Linked DNA regions of Homo sapiens: region 2 is linked to region 1. Evidence: promoter capture Hi-C in human tissues and cell types (Jung and others, 2019). All regions are on one chromosome and are shown on one strand. Each heading gives the region's core, a stretch centred on a gene start or on the middle of the fragment in contact. The rest is flanking DNA. Distances are from core to core; before and after follow the strand shown.

Region 1 (7,121 bases), core at 2,112-4,611:
AAAAAAAGTTGGGTGGGGTGGCTCACACCTGTAATGCCAGCACTTAGAGAGGCTGAGGCAGGCAGATCGCTTGAGTCCAGGAGTTCGAGACCAACCTGGGCAATATGGTGAAAGCCTGTCTCTACCAAAAATACAAAAATTCGCCACCAGGTGTGGTGGTACGCACCTGTGGTCCCAGCTACTCAGGAGGCTGAGGTGGGAGAATTGCTTGAGCCCAGGAGGTAGAGGTTGCAGTGAGCTAAGATCACACCATTGCACTCCAGCCTGGGCAACAGGAGTGAAACTCTATCTCAAAAAAAAAAAAAAAAAAAAGCAGCCAGATACAAAGAACACATATTGTATGACTCCATTTATTTGAAATACCCTAGGCTGGATGCAGTGGTTCAGACCTGTAATCCCAGTACTTTGGGAGGCCAAATCAGGAGGATTGTTTGAGCCCAGGAGTTCCAGATCAGTTTTTTTTTGTTTTGTTTTGTTTTTTTTTTGATATGGAGTCTCACTCTGTCACCCAGGCTGAAGTGCAGTGGCGCGATCTTGGCTTATCACAAACTCCGCCTCCTGGGTTCAAGTGATTCTCCTGCCTCAGCCTCCCAAGTAGCTGGGATTACAGGCGCCCACTATTATACCTGGCTAATTTTTGTATTTTTTTAGTAGAGACGGGGTTTCACCATGTTGGCCAGGCTGGTCTCAAACTCCTGACCTCAGGTGATCTGCCTGCCTCTGCCTCCGCCTCCCAAAGTGCTGGGATTACAGGTGTGAGCCACTGTGCCCAGTCCCGAGATCAGTTTGGGCAACATAGTGAGACCCCATCGCTACAAATAATAAAAAATTAGCCAGGTATCGTGGCACACGTCTGTAGTCTCAACTCCTTGGGAGGCTGAGGTAGGAGGACTGCTTGCACCCAAAAGGTCGGGGCTACAGTGAGTCATGATCACGCTGCCACTGCACTCTAGCCTGGGTGACAGTGAGACCCTGTTTCCTAGAAAAAAAAAAAAGAAAAGTAAAAAGAAGAAATGCCCTCAACATGCTAAACATGTAAATCTATACAGTCAGAAAGCAGGTTAGTAGTGTTTGCCTAAGGCTGGAGGATGATTGGGAGAAAATGGTGAGTCTCTGCTAATTCATAAGGGGCTTATTTTGAGGGCAATGAAAATATTCTAAAATTAGGCTGGGTGCGGTGGCTCATGCCTGTAATCCCAGCACTTTGGGAGACCAAGGCGGGTGGAACACCTGAGGTCAGGAGTTCAAGAGCAGCCCGGCCAACATGGTGAAACCCCATCTCTATTAAAAACACACACAAAATTAGCCAGGCATGGTGGCGGGCACCTGTAGTTCTAGCTACTGGGGAGGATGAGGCAGGAGAACTGCTTGAACCCGGGAGGTGGAGGTTGCAGTGAGTGGAGATGGCGCCACTACACTTCAGCCTAGTCAATAGAAGGAGACTCCGTCTCAAAAACAAAATATAAAAAAAAGAAAATGAATCTTTTAAAACCACCAGATGGGCCGGGCATGGTGGCTTATGCCTGTAATCCCGGCACTTTGGAAGGCCGAGGGGGACGGATCTCCTCAGGTCAGGACTTTGAGACCAGTCTGGCCAACATGGTGAAACCCTGTCTCTACTAAAAATACAAAACTTAGCTGGGCGTGGTGGCAGCTACTCGGGAGGCTGAGGCAGGAGAATTGCTTGAACCTGGGAGGCAGAGGTTGCAGTGAGCTGAGATCACGCCATTGCACTCCAGCTTGGGTGACAAGAGTGAAACTCTATCTTAAAAACAAACAAACAAACAAAATCTCCACCAGATGCTTGGGCCGGGCGTGTGGCTCATGCCTGTAATCCCAACACTTTGGGAGGCTGAGGCTGGCAGATCACCATAGGTCAGGAGTTCAAGACTAGCCTGGCCAACATGGTGAAACCCCATCTCTACTAAAAATACAAAAAAAAAAAAAAAAAAAAAAAGAAAGCCGGGCGCGGTGGCTCATGCCTGTAATCCTGGCACTTTGGGAGGCCAGGGGGATGGATCACCTGAGGTCAGGAGTTTGAGACCAGCCTGGTCAACATGTTGAAGCCATCTCACTAAAAATACAAAACTTAGCTGGGCGTGGTGACATGTACCTGTAATCCCAGCTACTCGGGAGGCTGAGGCAGGAGAATTGCTTGAACCTGGGAGGCAGAGGTTGCAGTGTGCTGAGATCACGCCATTGCACTGCAGCTTGGGTGACAATAGTGAAACTCTGTCTCAAAAACAAAAAACAAAAAACAAAAACTCCACCAGATGCTTGGGCCGGGTGCAGTGGCTCATGCCTGTAATGCCAGCACTTTGGGAGGCTGAGGTGGGCGGATCACCTTAGGTTCGAGACCAGCCTGGCTGACAAGGTGAAACCTCGTCTCTACTAAAAACAAAAGTTAGCTGGGTGTGGTGGCATGCACCTGTAATCCCAGCTACTCAGGAGGCTGAGGCAGGAGAATCGTTTGAACCCGGGAGGCGGAGGTTGCAGTGAGCTGAGATCTTGCGACTGCCCTCTAGCCTGGGCAACAGAGTGAGACTCCGTCTCAAAACAAACAAACAAAAAGTAAATAGCTGGCATTACAACCATTCTTCTTACCTTTTTGTAGGTTGCAGGTTTTATATTTGAGCTCTTCATAATATTTTTCTTAAGGATATATTAATATAATGTATATTTTCCTATTTTTTCCTGCTATGTAAACACTGCTGTTTGGTCAGATGAAGGAGGGAGCCCTGCCCTAGGACAGGGGAGGGGAGGAGGAAGGCGACCTCAACCCAGGACCCCTGTTCACCCTGGGATCAGGCCCTCACCCAGGTAGCTCCTCTGTTTGAAAGCTCTAAGCCCTTCCACTGTCCTCTTCAGGGCTACCCCGCCACACAGCCTCTCCTTGTCTTGTCTTCCCTTTGGCGGGGTCACACCCGCACCTGGGTCACTGCCCCCTTCCTCTGGTCGAGGGTTGGGGGGAGTGTCCCCTCCTCCCTCGGCCGGAGTCACAGTTCCACACGCAGGGGTCCTTCCTGCCCCTCTCACCTGGGGTCACAACCCCCCTCCCTCGGAGGAGGGAGGTCACCGGCCACAGGCGGGGGCCTCAGTTTCCCACGCTACAGGGCTCACACGTGTCTGGCCTGCGACGCGCTCTCCCTTCGCCGGGGTCCCAGTTTCCCGCCCAGGAAACCTCGGTCCCTCCTCCGAGGCCGCCGGGCCCTCCTCCAGAGTCCCGCCAGTCCCCCAGAGTCCAGGCCAGTCCCCGCCGTCACCCGGTGCGAGCCCGCGAGAGGCCTAGTGCAGCTGGCAGCCCCGCCCCGGCACCCGCCTGCTCTTCTCGCGGGTCCGGACCGCGAGCGCGGGGGCCGACGGGTCGCCGCTGCGCCGGGCCGGGATGGCGGCCACCGCGCTGCTGGAGGCCGGCCTGGCGCGGGTGCTCTTCTACCCGACGCTGCTCTACACCCTGTTCCGCGGGAAGGTGCCGGGTCGGGCGCACCGGGACTGGTACCACCGCATCGACCCCACCGTGCTGCTGGGCGCGCTGCCGTTGCGGAGCTTGACGCGCCAGGTGAGCCGGGCCGGGGAGCCCGGGCCCCTGCCCCGTCCCCGCCGCTCCGTCCCTGTCGGGCCGCTGGGGTCTCCACCGTCTTTGCTGAGCCACCTCTTTGCCTCGGCAGCTGGTACAGGACGAGAACGTGCGCGGGGTGATCACCATGAACGAGGAGTACGAGACGAGGTTCCTGTGCAACTCTTCACAGGTGAGGGACCGGGCCGAGGGGCAGGCTCGGGGGCCCGCTCCCCCTCGCCCACCGCCCTGAGCCTGGGACGGCTAGAGAAGTGTGGGGGAGGTCACCATGCACCGGAGCCAGGTGTCTCAAGCTGCTTTGCCTCCGGTCTGTGCCTCTAAATGGCACCTGGAGGTAGGCTAGAAGCTGTGAAAGGCGTTTATTTAAAAGTTCAAGTTGGGCCGGGCGCGGGGACTCACGCCTGTAATCCCAGCACTTTGGGAGGCGGGAGGAGGAGGCGGGCAGATCACTTGAGCCCAGGAGTTCCTGACCAGCCTGGGCAACATGGCGAGGCCCCCGTCCCTACAAAAATACAAAAAGTAGCCGGGAGTGGTGGCGTGCGCCTGTACTCCCAGCTACTTGGGAGGCTAAGGCAGGAGAATCACTTTAGCCCGGGAGGTGGAGGTTGCAGTGAGCCGACATCTCGCCATTGCATTCCAGCCCAGCCTTGGGCGACAGGAGTGAAACAATGTCTCAAAAAAAAAAAAAAAAAAAGTGGAAGTTGACAAAGCCTGATTTCTCCTTTGTGAACAAATGTAATGTATTCTTATTTCGGTAACCAAAATCAGAAACTAAAATTGAAAGGCAACTTTCCCATGCCTTCCTGATTTCATTCATTCTTTCTATACTTTGAGCTCTGAGTATGGGTCAGCATTCCCAGTGTTAGGGATTCCAGATGAAGGCCCTGCCAACTGTAAGACGAAAAGCACCCCCTTAACACTCTCCCCTCCCCAGATTTTTCATAAAACTATCCATTGAAAACTGTAGAGTTCATTTGGCTCTGATTTGGGGGAATTTTTAGTCATATATTAGAAATCATGGTGGAACTCCAAAGTTCTCTCATAACAAAGTTTAGGCCTAAAACATAACTTTCATTAAATGTGACTGGCCTGTTTGTGGAATCTTCCACAATGGTTATTAGAAGATGTTATCTACAATCTGAGCTATTTGATTTTTTTTTAATGTTGCCCTATCTTTATAGCGTTTGGCATCTAATAGCACTAAACAATTATCTTTCTCATTTGTTTTACTGATATAGCATGATGAAGATACTATTATTTCAACCTGAGGATTTTTTTGAAACCTTGAAAATATTTGTGACTTGGCCAGGCGTGGTGGCTCTCACACCTGTAATCCCAGCACTTTGGGAGGCTGAGGTGGGTGGATCACCTGAGGTCAGGAGTTTGAGATCAGCCTGGCCAAAATGGTGAAACCCCGTCTGTACTAAAATCACACAAAAAAATTAGCCGGGCGTGGTGGCAGGCGCCTGTAATCCTAGCTACTTGGGAGGCTGAGGCAGGAGAATCGCTTGAACCCGGGAGGCAGAAGTTGCAGTGGGCCGAGATTGCACCACTGCACGCCAGCCTGGGCGACAGAGTGAGTCTCCGTCTCAAAAAAAAAAAAGAATTACTGATCTTCATTTAGAACCATAAAGTCTCTGATACTCATTATTAAGAGGTTAATAACAAGAGTAGCTGGAGCATATCTGAAGTCTTAAAGCATAAAGTTTGCCCAGTTGCCAGAGACCTTATTTCTATTTCTTTTCTTTTTTTTTTTTTTTTTTTGAGATGGAGTCTCACTCCCTTGCCCAGGCTGGAGTGCAATGGTGCAATCTCAGCTCACTGCAACCTCTGCCTCCCAGTTCAAGTGATTCTCCTGCCTCAGCCTCCCAAGTAGCTGGAATTACAGGTGCCTGCCAGCATGCCTGGCTAATTTTTGTATTTTTTATGGAGATAGGGTTTTGCCATGCTGGCCAAAGTCGTCTCGAACTCCTGACCTCAGGTGATCTGCCCACCTTGGCCTCTCAAAATCTGGGATTACAGGCGTGAGCCACCACACCTGGCCACCTATTTCTTCTAAGTGATAACATTGCACTAATGAAGGTCAGTGCATTGTTTTAATTTTATTTTTGTTTTTGTTTTTGAGACGGAGTCTTGCTCTGTCGCCTAGGCTGGAAGTGCAGTGGCACGATCTCGGCTCACTGCAAGCTCCGCCTCCTGGGTTCATGCCATTCTCCTGCCTCAGCCTCCCAAGTAGCTGGGACTACAGGCGCCTGCCACCATGCCCGGCTAATTTTTTTGTATTTTTAGTAGAGACGGGGTTTCACCGTGTTAGCCAGGATGGTCTAAATCTCCTGACCTCGTGATCCGCCCGCCTTGGCCTCCCAAAGTGCTGGGATTACAGGCATGAGCCACCATGCCCGGCCCATTGTTTTAATTTTAAAATGATAACCCTATTTTCTACCATATGTTCCCTCAAAAAACAGTGGTAAAAAAGAGACTTATGGACAGAGAAATAGAAAGCCTTGGCAAAATATTGTACCCCAAATCTGCAGCTGAATCACTACACAGGTGCCAAAATTATGCAAAAAAATTACACTGGCTGGGCCTGGTGGCTCATGCCTGTAATCCCAGCATTTTGGGAGGCTGAGACAGGAGGATGGCTTGAGGCTAGGAGATTGAGACCAGCCTGGGCAACATAGCGAGACCCCCATCTGCACACACACAAAAATAACAAAATTAGCCAGGCACAGTGGCATGCAGCTGTAGTCACAGCTACTTGGGAGGCTGAGGTGGGAGGACTGCTTGAGCTTAGGAGTTTGAGGCTGCAAGGAGCCATGATTGCATACCACTGCTCTCTGACCTGGGTGACATAGCAAGATCGTGTCTCTAAAATAAAATATATATATATTTTTGAGATGTTGTTTTGCTCTTGTCTCCCAGGCTGGAGTACAATGGTGCGATCTCTGCTCACTGCAACCTCTCCCTCCAGGGTTAAACAATTCTCCTGCCTCAGCCTCCCTAGTAGCTGGGATCACAGGCATCCACCACCACGCATGGCTAATTTTTGTATTTTTAGTAGAGACAGGGTTTCCCCATGTTAGCCAGGCTGGTCTCAAACTCCTGACCTTAGGTGATCTGCCCGCCTTGGCCTTGCAAACTGTTGGGATTACAGGCGTGAGCCACCATGCCCGGCCAAAATAAAATGTTAAGACGTTTGCAGCTGAATTTTTTGCAGCTAAAATGTATATAGCTAATATCTTGCAGCTAAATATTCAAGTACCCAAAGGGTAGTTTAAGAACACTTTACCTGCTGGTGTGGTGGCTCACACCTGTAATCCCAGCACTTTGGGAGGCTGAGGCAGGCGGATGACCTGAGGTCAGGAGTTCGAGACCAGCCTGGCCAACATGATGAAACCCCGTCTCTACTAAAAATGCAAAAATTAGCCAGGCTTGGTGGCGCGTGCCTGTAGTCCCAGCTACTCGGGAGGCTGAGGCAGGAGAATCGCTTGAAACTGGGAGGTGGAGGTTGTGGTGAGCTGAGATCACGCCACTGTACTACAGC
Region 2 (7,121 bases), core at 1,968-4,467, 330 kb before region 1:
CTCGACCTCCAGGCTTCCGTCATCTTCCCACCTCAGCCTTCTGAGTAGCTAGAACCACATGCACCTACCACCATGTCTAAATTTTTTTTGTGTGTGTAGAGATGGGGTCTCCCTATATTGCTTAGGCTGGTCTTGAACTCCTGGCCTCAAGCAATCCCCCCGCCTCAGTCTCCCCAGGTGTTGGGATTACTGTGCTCGGTCTATAGGACATTCTATGAGGGCAAAACAATAGTGATGGAGAACAGATCAGCCAGGGGCTGGGGGCGAGGGGAGGGTGTGATTACAATGGGATACCACGATGGAGTTTTTGGGCTGTTGCAAATGTTCTGCATCCTGATTTGGGTGGTGGTTATTTAAGTCTATACATATGTTAAAATTCAGAGAACTTTATATCCCAAATTTGCTATATGTTAATTAAAAAAAAAAGTAAAAATAAAGCCTTAAGAAATGAAGGGAGGCGGGGCACGGTGGCTCACGCCTGTAATCCCAGCACTTTGGGAGGCCAAGGGTGGCGGATTACCTGAGGGCAGGAGTTCCAGACCAGCCTGGCCAACATGGTGAAACCCTGTCTCTACTAAAAATATACAATTTAGCCATGCGTGGTGGTGGGCACCTGTAATCCCAGCTGCTTGGGAGGCTGAGGCAGGAGAATCGCTTGAACCTGGAAGGCAGAGGTTGCAGTGAGCCGAGGTCGTGACAGAGCAGGACTCCATCTCAAAAACATAAAAATAAAAATAAAAATAAAAAAAAGAAAGAAATGAAGGGGCCAGACAAAGCGGCTCATGCCTGTAATCTTAGCACTTTGGGAAGCCGTGGCAGGGGGATCGCTTGAGCTTAGGAGTTCAAGACCAGCTTGGGCAACGTGACAAAACCCCATCTTAAAAAAAAAAAATAGAAAAATTAGCTGGGCATGGTGGCACGCACTTGGGAGGCTGAGGTGGGAGGATCGCTTGAGCCCAGGAGATTGAGGCTGCAGTGAGCCGTGTTTGTGCCACTGCACTTCAGCCTAAGTGACAGAGAAAGACCCTATTTCAAAGGAAAAGAAAAAGAAGTGAAGGCCCTGTAGAGAGCGTCCTAGTGTCTAAGCTGACCTGGCCCCAAGCGCTGCTCGAGGGGTGCTTCTGTGACGGCGCAGCATGTGTGCCCAGGCCTGGTTCCTCACGGCCAGGCCCATCATCACTCACTGGCTTTTTCCTTCCTCGTGTTAGATTGGAGCTGGAGGGAGCATCACTGGGCTGAAGTTTAACCCTCTCAATACCAACCAGTTTTACGCCTCCTCAATGGAGGGAACAACTAGGCTGCAAGACTTTAAAGGCAACATTCTACGAGTTTTTGCCAGCTCAGACACCATCAAGTGAGTAGTTTAACTAGCAGGGGAAAGGGCTTCTAAGCTTAGGTGTAGTTCCGGCAAGAGCATCCAGATCCCATTTCCTTAACCCAACCTGGCCCAGGGAAGAAAGGAAAGATGTCAGCCACTTTCCGCCCTTCTTTCTCTTTCTCAAACTGCTCCTTGGCTGCCCTCACTTTGGTCCAGGTGGGTTACTGCTTTGGGAAGGTGTTCTGGAGCCTCAGCTCTTCTGTAAGTCATACCTGTATTAGACTGGACCTTGACCCTCACTAGATAAGCCAGCATGGCGTGGACCCAGAAAGCCACCTAGAGAATGGAGCAACAGCTCAGAACTTGAGACTGAATGCCCTGCACTCACTGTGGTGTAATGACCTGACCTGTTCCTGGGTGGAAGCTTATATGGATGGAATCTTTTCCATAAAGTGCTCTGGACTTCCCAAGAGAAAGTGGCTGGAGAAATTACAGAATGCGGCCGGGTGCAGTGGCTCATGCTTGAAATCCCAGCACTTTGGGAGGCCAAGGTGGGTGGATCACCTGAGGTCAGGAGTTCGAGACCAGCCTGGCCAACATGGTGAAACCCCCATCTCTACTAACAATACAAAAAATTAGCTGGGCGTGGTGGTAGGCCCCTGTAATTCCCAGCTACTTGGGAGGCTGAAGCAAGAGAATCGCTTGAACCCAGGAGGCAGAGGTTGCAGTGAGCCGAGATGGCGCCATTGCACTCCATCCTGGGCAACAAGAGCGAAAATCTATCTCAAAAAAAAAAAAAAAAAATTACAGAATACTCGTCACTTTGATTTCCAGCTAGAGCCGTGACTCTGACTGCTCCCTGAGGAATTAAGTGAGGGTGCTGGGGTGTAACTAGCATTGGATTGGATCCTGGGCTGTCCCGCAGGGATGAGGAGTGCATGCGCACGCAAATCAGCAGGCAATTGGATAGACAAGGCTCCAGGCTACTCTTCCGCAAGAAATCTTCCTGCTTGAAGATATTCATAGGGGATGGCAAAAGGCAGTGTAGCATGGATTTGAGAGTTTGAGAGAAAAACTGTGAGCTGAGCTCTTCTGGCTGAATAGCAGGATCCCTGAAGCACCCTCCTAGTCAGCCTCCCAGTCCAGTGGTTTGAGGGACCAGAAGAGCTCCTGGTTGTGTTTTTTCCCCCAGTGTTCAGAAGGGGGCAGAAGTGCTTTTCTAGCCAGCTCTGAGGAACAGGGCCAGGCAATCCCTCTTTGGCTTGTGTCTCCTTTGGCCTAAAGGGTGAAGAGTGAAAGGAGAGAGCAGTAAAGGAGGCTTGCTCAGAACCCGGGGTGTGGGGGGCAGGCGTGCCTCAGGGCTTGCTTTATGGTATAAGCTTTGTCTGCTTCAGGGACTTTTAGGAGCTGGGGATCCTGGGCCCAGCCATAACCAGACAGATTTCTGAGCCCCATTATCCCATCCCCTCTGTCTGGACGGTAGAGCAGTCTGAATGTTCCTCACTAGGAATCCACGGCAAGACAGTTATTCATTCATTCAACAAATATTTATTGAATGCCCGCTGTGGGTTAGTCACCGGAGCGGCAACAGTGAGTAAATAGGACTATCTCTGTCCCCAAGAATCTTACAACACAGTCTCTCCCTCCAGCATCTGGTTTTGTAGCCTGGATGTGTCTGCTAGTAGCCGAATGGTGGTCACAGGAGACAACGTGGGGAACGTGATCCTGCTGAACATGGACGGCAAAGAGGTGCGTTCTCCGAGGTCCTGCCTTTCCCTCCCTCACCCCCACCTCGGTTCTGTGTCCCCACCTGAACCGAGCTCTTCTCTGCAGCTTTGGAATCTCAGAATGCACAAAAAGAAAGTGACGCATGTGGCCCTGAACCCATGCTGTGATTGGTTCCTGGCCACAGCCTCCGTAGATCAAACAGTGAAAATTTGGGACCTGCGCCAGGTTAGAGGGAAAGCCAGCTTCCTCTACTCGCTGCCGCACAGGCATCCTGTCAACGCAGGTGTGATATCCCAGACCTCATCTCTCCTGCAGACCCTGCCTGTCTGACCACTGCTGGGGTTTTCCCTCAGTGTGGAAGCCACTACGTCAAACCTTTACCCCTGATAGCGTCTGCCAAGCTGATGTCTGGGAACCTTTGTGGCTGTGGCTGTCCCCATCAGCTGCTGAGTTTCCAGAATTTTTTTGTTGTTGTTCACAGCCCAGATTCACCTCTTCCTTTCCGCTCCTGTCTAGAGAGGAGTGGGAGGGAGAGTACCCCTGCAGGAGAAGGCCTGCAAGGCCAGGACCACAGAGGGCTTGTGGTTCCTTCAGCTCAGGGGCTTTTCACTTTGCCAGCTTGTTTCAGTCCCGATGGAGCCCGGCTCCTGACCACGGACCAGAAGAGCGAGATCCGAGTTTACTCTGCTTCCCAGTGGGACTGCCCCCTGGGCCTGATCCCGCACCCTCACCGTCACTTCCAGCACCTCACACCCATCAAGGTGAGTGGCGGTGGGAAGGAGCTCGCAGAAGGAGGCTGTGATCATGAGGCCGGAGCAGGTCTGCCCACAGTGGGGAAGGGCTGATGTGGTAAGCCTGCCACCCCAGATCGCTCCTGGCCCGAGCACAGAGCATCTCTTACCCATTGGCTCTCTCTCTTCCTTTTATCCCACTTCTGCCATCCCATATGGTTGAGTTTTCTGTCTCGCTGATAAGATATTTTTCTGAGTTTTTTCAGCCCAGCTCTGATCTCACTGTGAGAATTTTCTAAGATCCTGACCCTCTGTTCTGTCTTCTCAGCTTCAGTTACCTGTGTACAGTTGACCCACAAACCTTCATTTTTTATTTTTTTATTATTTTTTTTAAGGCAGGGTCTCGCTCTGTCACCCAGGTGGGAGTACAGTGGGGCAAGCATGGTTCATTACAGCCTTGATCTCCCAGGCTCAAGCGATCCTCCTGCCTCACTTTTTTTTTTTTTGTAGAGACAGGGTATTCTTGTGTTACCCAGGCTGATCCTTTTTTTTTTTTTTTTTTTTTTTCTTGAAACGGTCTTGCTCTGTCACCCAGGCTGGAGTGCAGTGGCACAAACATAGCTCACTGCAGCCTCAACCTCCTGGGTTCAAGCAATCCTTCCGCCTTAGCCTCGGAAGTAGATTGGACTACAGGTATGCGCCACCATACCCAGCTAATTTTTTTATTTTTTATAGAGATGGGGTTTTGCCATGTTGCCCAAGCTGGTCTTGAACTCCTAGGTTGAAGCCATCCCCCAACCTTGGCCTCCCAAAGTGCTAGGATTACAGGCATGAGCCACTGCGCCTGGCAACTTTGCCTTCTTAGTTTGTCTTGCAGGTTTCAGTGCTTCTAATAATAAAAATAAGTCTTTTATTTTCCCACCTTTTCTCAGGCTCTTGTTAATAGCTTCTCTATCATTAGTCCCCAACACTAATAGCTTTCAAGTCCTTTGATGCCTTTTTGCCTAAGCCCCCATGCAGACTGAGCTCTGCTAGTTCTGCATTCTTTTCCAAAACTACAGATCCTCTTCAGATCTTCAGGTTTTATGCCTATACTTCTCTGGTCAGTTCAGAATAGTGGTGGGGAGCGCCAGTTTCCAGCAGCCAGACCCCCCGGGTTAGAATCCTTGGGCAAATTACTTATATTTTGGATCTGTTTCCTCATCTGCAAAAAGGGAATACTAGTCTCTAACTGATAGGGTTGTTGTGAAGATGAGTCAGTATACTTAAAGCACTTGGCCCCATGCCCAGCACCTGGTAAGTACTGGTAAGTATTCAATAAATGATGATTGAATATTGAGTGGCCCCCACGTACCTCAATCACATCCAAGCTCTTAATAAATAATGTCAAGAATCCTTCCCCAGTTGGTGTTCCTGTTAATCCATCAGTGTTCCCGATAATCCATCTGTCTGCATGTCCCAGTTTGTATCTAGCCAGGTGTCGTAAGTCATTACAGCTTCCTGTGTGTGATTTGTGACTTATTTCTAAGCCTTCGCATGTACTATTTCTTCCTTCCTGCTAACCATGTCTTTCTTCCTTCAAAACTTCCTTGAGAAGTTTAGGAAAATCCCATCCAATTCTGCCATTTTAATAACTGCCAGATTTGTTTTTAGTGGGGTGATCTGGGGAATGTGGGTTTCCTTCTCTTTTTTAGCCATTAGCAATTTTACACTCAGCTCTTAGTTATTCGTGTTGATGGAGACAGGATGACAGTGGGGCTCCTCCAGAACTCAAGTCCTGTTAGGGTTTGGTCACCAGAGGCTTTTTCTGCTTTGTTGTAGGCCTCTTAGGTCAGTATCTGGGTCAGGCTGATGTTAAAACGTTTACCAGTTGGTATGATCTTAGGAAATGCAAATGAGGGAGAAGGCCTGAAGGTGCCCTAAGGGCCAGGGAGGCCAGCTAGGGATTAAAAATGTGCAATGGCAGAGGCACACACAACCTAAAACCATTCTTGTAGTTTTCTGTAAGACTTATCTCCATTATTAGGTTGGCTTGTTACTGGCAAATACTACTTTTTTTTTTTTTTTTTTGAGAGTCTTGCTCTGTCACCTAGGCTGGAGTGCAGTGACATGATCTTCACTCACTGCAACCTCCGCCTCCCGGGTTCAAGTGATTCCCCTGCCTCAGCCTCCCAAGTAGCTGGGACTACAGGCATGTACCACCACGCCCAGCTAATTTTTTTTTTGGTATTTTTAGTAGGGACGGGGTTTCACCATGTTAGCCAGGATGGTCTCGATCTCCTGACCTCGTGATCCGCCTGCCTCAGCCTCCCAAAGTGTTGAGATTACAGGTGTGAGCCACTGCACTCAGCCCAAAGAATACTTTTGATGTTCCTCTTTGTTCATATTTGTTTTTGATGTCCCCCTTGATCATGTTCTGTGTTTACCCTCATGGCCGGCCTCTCCATCTCCTAGGCAGCCTGGCATCCTCGCTACAACCTCATTGTTGTGGGCCGATACCCAGATCCTAATTTCAAAAGTTGTACCCCTTATGAATTGAGGACGATCGACGTGTTCGATGGAAACTCAGGGAAGATGATGTGTCAGCTCTATGACCCAGAATCTTCTGGCATCAGTTCGGTGAGGCTTGGGTCCTCAAATAATGATGGGAGGAAGCAGGGATTCAACCTACCTTATTGACCAAAAGTGACCAGAAATCAGGTGTCTCTGCTAATACCTTCACCCTCTCCTCATGTTGACACTCTTGTCTCTGCAGCTTAATGAATTCAATCCCATGGGGGACACGCTGGCCTCTGCAATGGGTGAGTAGGAGGAGAATGTCTCTGACTTGCCAAGTCCGATCCTACTTCCCAAGGTTCAGTGCGGGCCAGCCTCAGCCCCGCCCTGCCACATTCACCCCAGGGCAGTGGCCCACGAAGAAGATGGCTGGGAGACAGTGGTCTCTATAGCCAAGGCCCTCCATTCCTCTGGCTTTGTCTTGGTCATGCAATGCCTGGCTACTGTCCAGTTTCCTAGTATTTCTTTTTTTTTTTTGAGACGGAGTCTCGCTCTGTCCCCCCGGGCTGGAGTGCAGTGGCGTGATCTTGGCTCAATGCAAGCTCCGCCTCCTGGGTTCACGCCATTCTCCTGCCTCAACCTCTCGAGTAGCTAGGACTACAGGTGCCCGCTACCACGCCCAGCTAATTTTTTGTATTTTTAGTAGAGACAGGGTTTCACCGTGTTAGCCAGGATGGTCTCGGTCTCCTGACCTCGTGATCCGCCCACCTCAGCCTCCCAAAGTGCTGGGATTACAGACTTGAGCCACCGCGCCCGGCCTTCCTAGTATTTCTTTACCAAATTGTAGG

What was found. Contacts are between HindIII fragments. The study calls those that stand out against the background at their distance.
Region 2: a contact is called between a fragment that was not itself captured here and the fragment with the promoter of PTPMT1 in region 1, in 1 of the 25 tissues and cell types used here (spleen).

The regions. Positions count from the first base shown.
Region 1 is chr11:47,562,238-47,569,358 of GRCh38, forward strand. PTPMT1 (protein tyrosine phosphatase mitochondrial 1) reads left to right here and starts at 3,362. Exons shown (of 4, transcript NM_175732.3): 1 at 3,362-3,559; 2 at 3,669-3,749. The coding sequence starts at 3,386. It also overlaps a transcript of CELF1 not described here. RefSeq lists enhancers at 2,873-3,373, 3,374-3,874 and silencers at 3,184-3,663, 3,794-3,873. The HindIII fragment of the contact is 19,699 bases long and covers 1-7,121 here.
Region 2 is chr11:47,231,606-47,238,726 of GRCh38, forward strand. It overlaps DDB2 (damage specific DNA binding protein 2), which reads left to right. Exons shown (of 10, transcript NM_000107.3): 4 at 1,209-1,354; 5 at 2,968-3,067; 6 at 3,152-3,329; 7 at 3,665-3,807; 8 at 6,232-6,396; 9 at 6,533-6,578. Among named protein-coding and RNA genes, the nearest start is that of ACP2, 14 kb to the right of the region's middle. The HindIII fragment of the contact is 6,251 bases long and covers 93-6,343 here.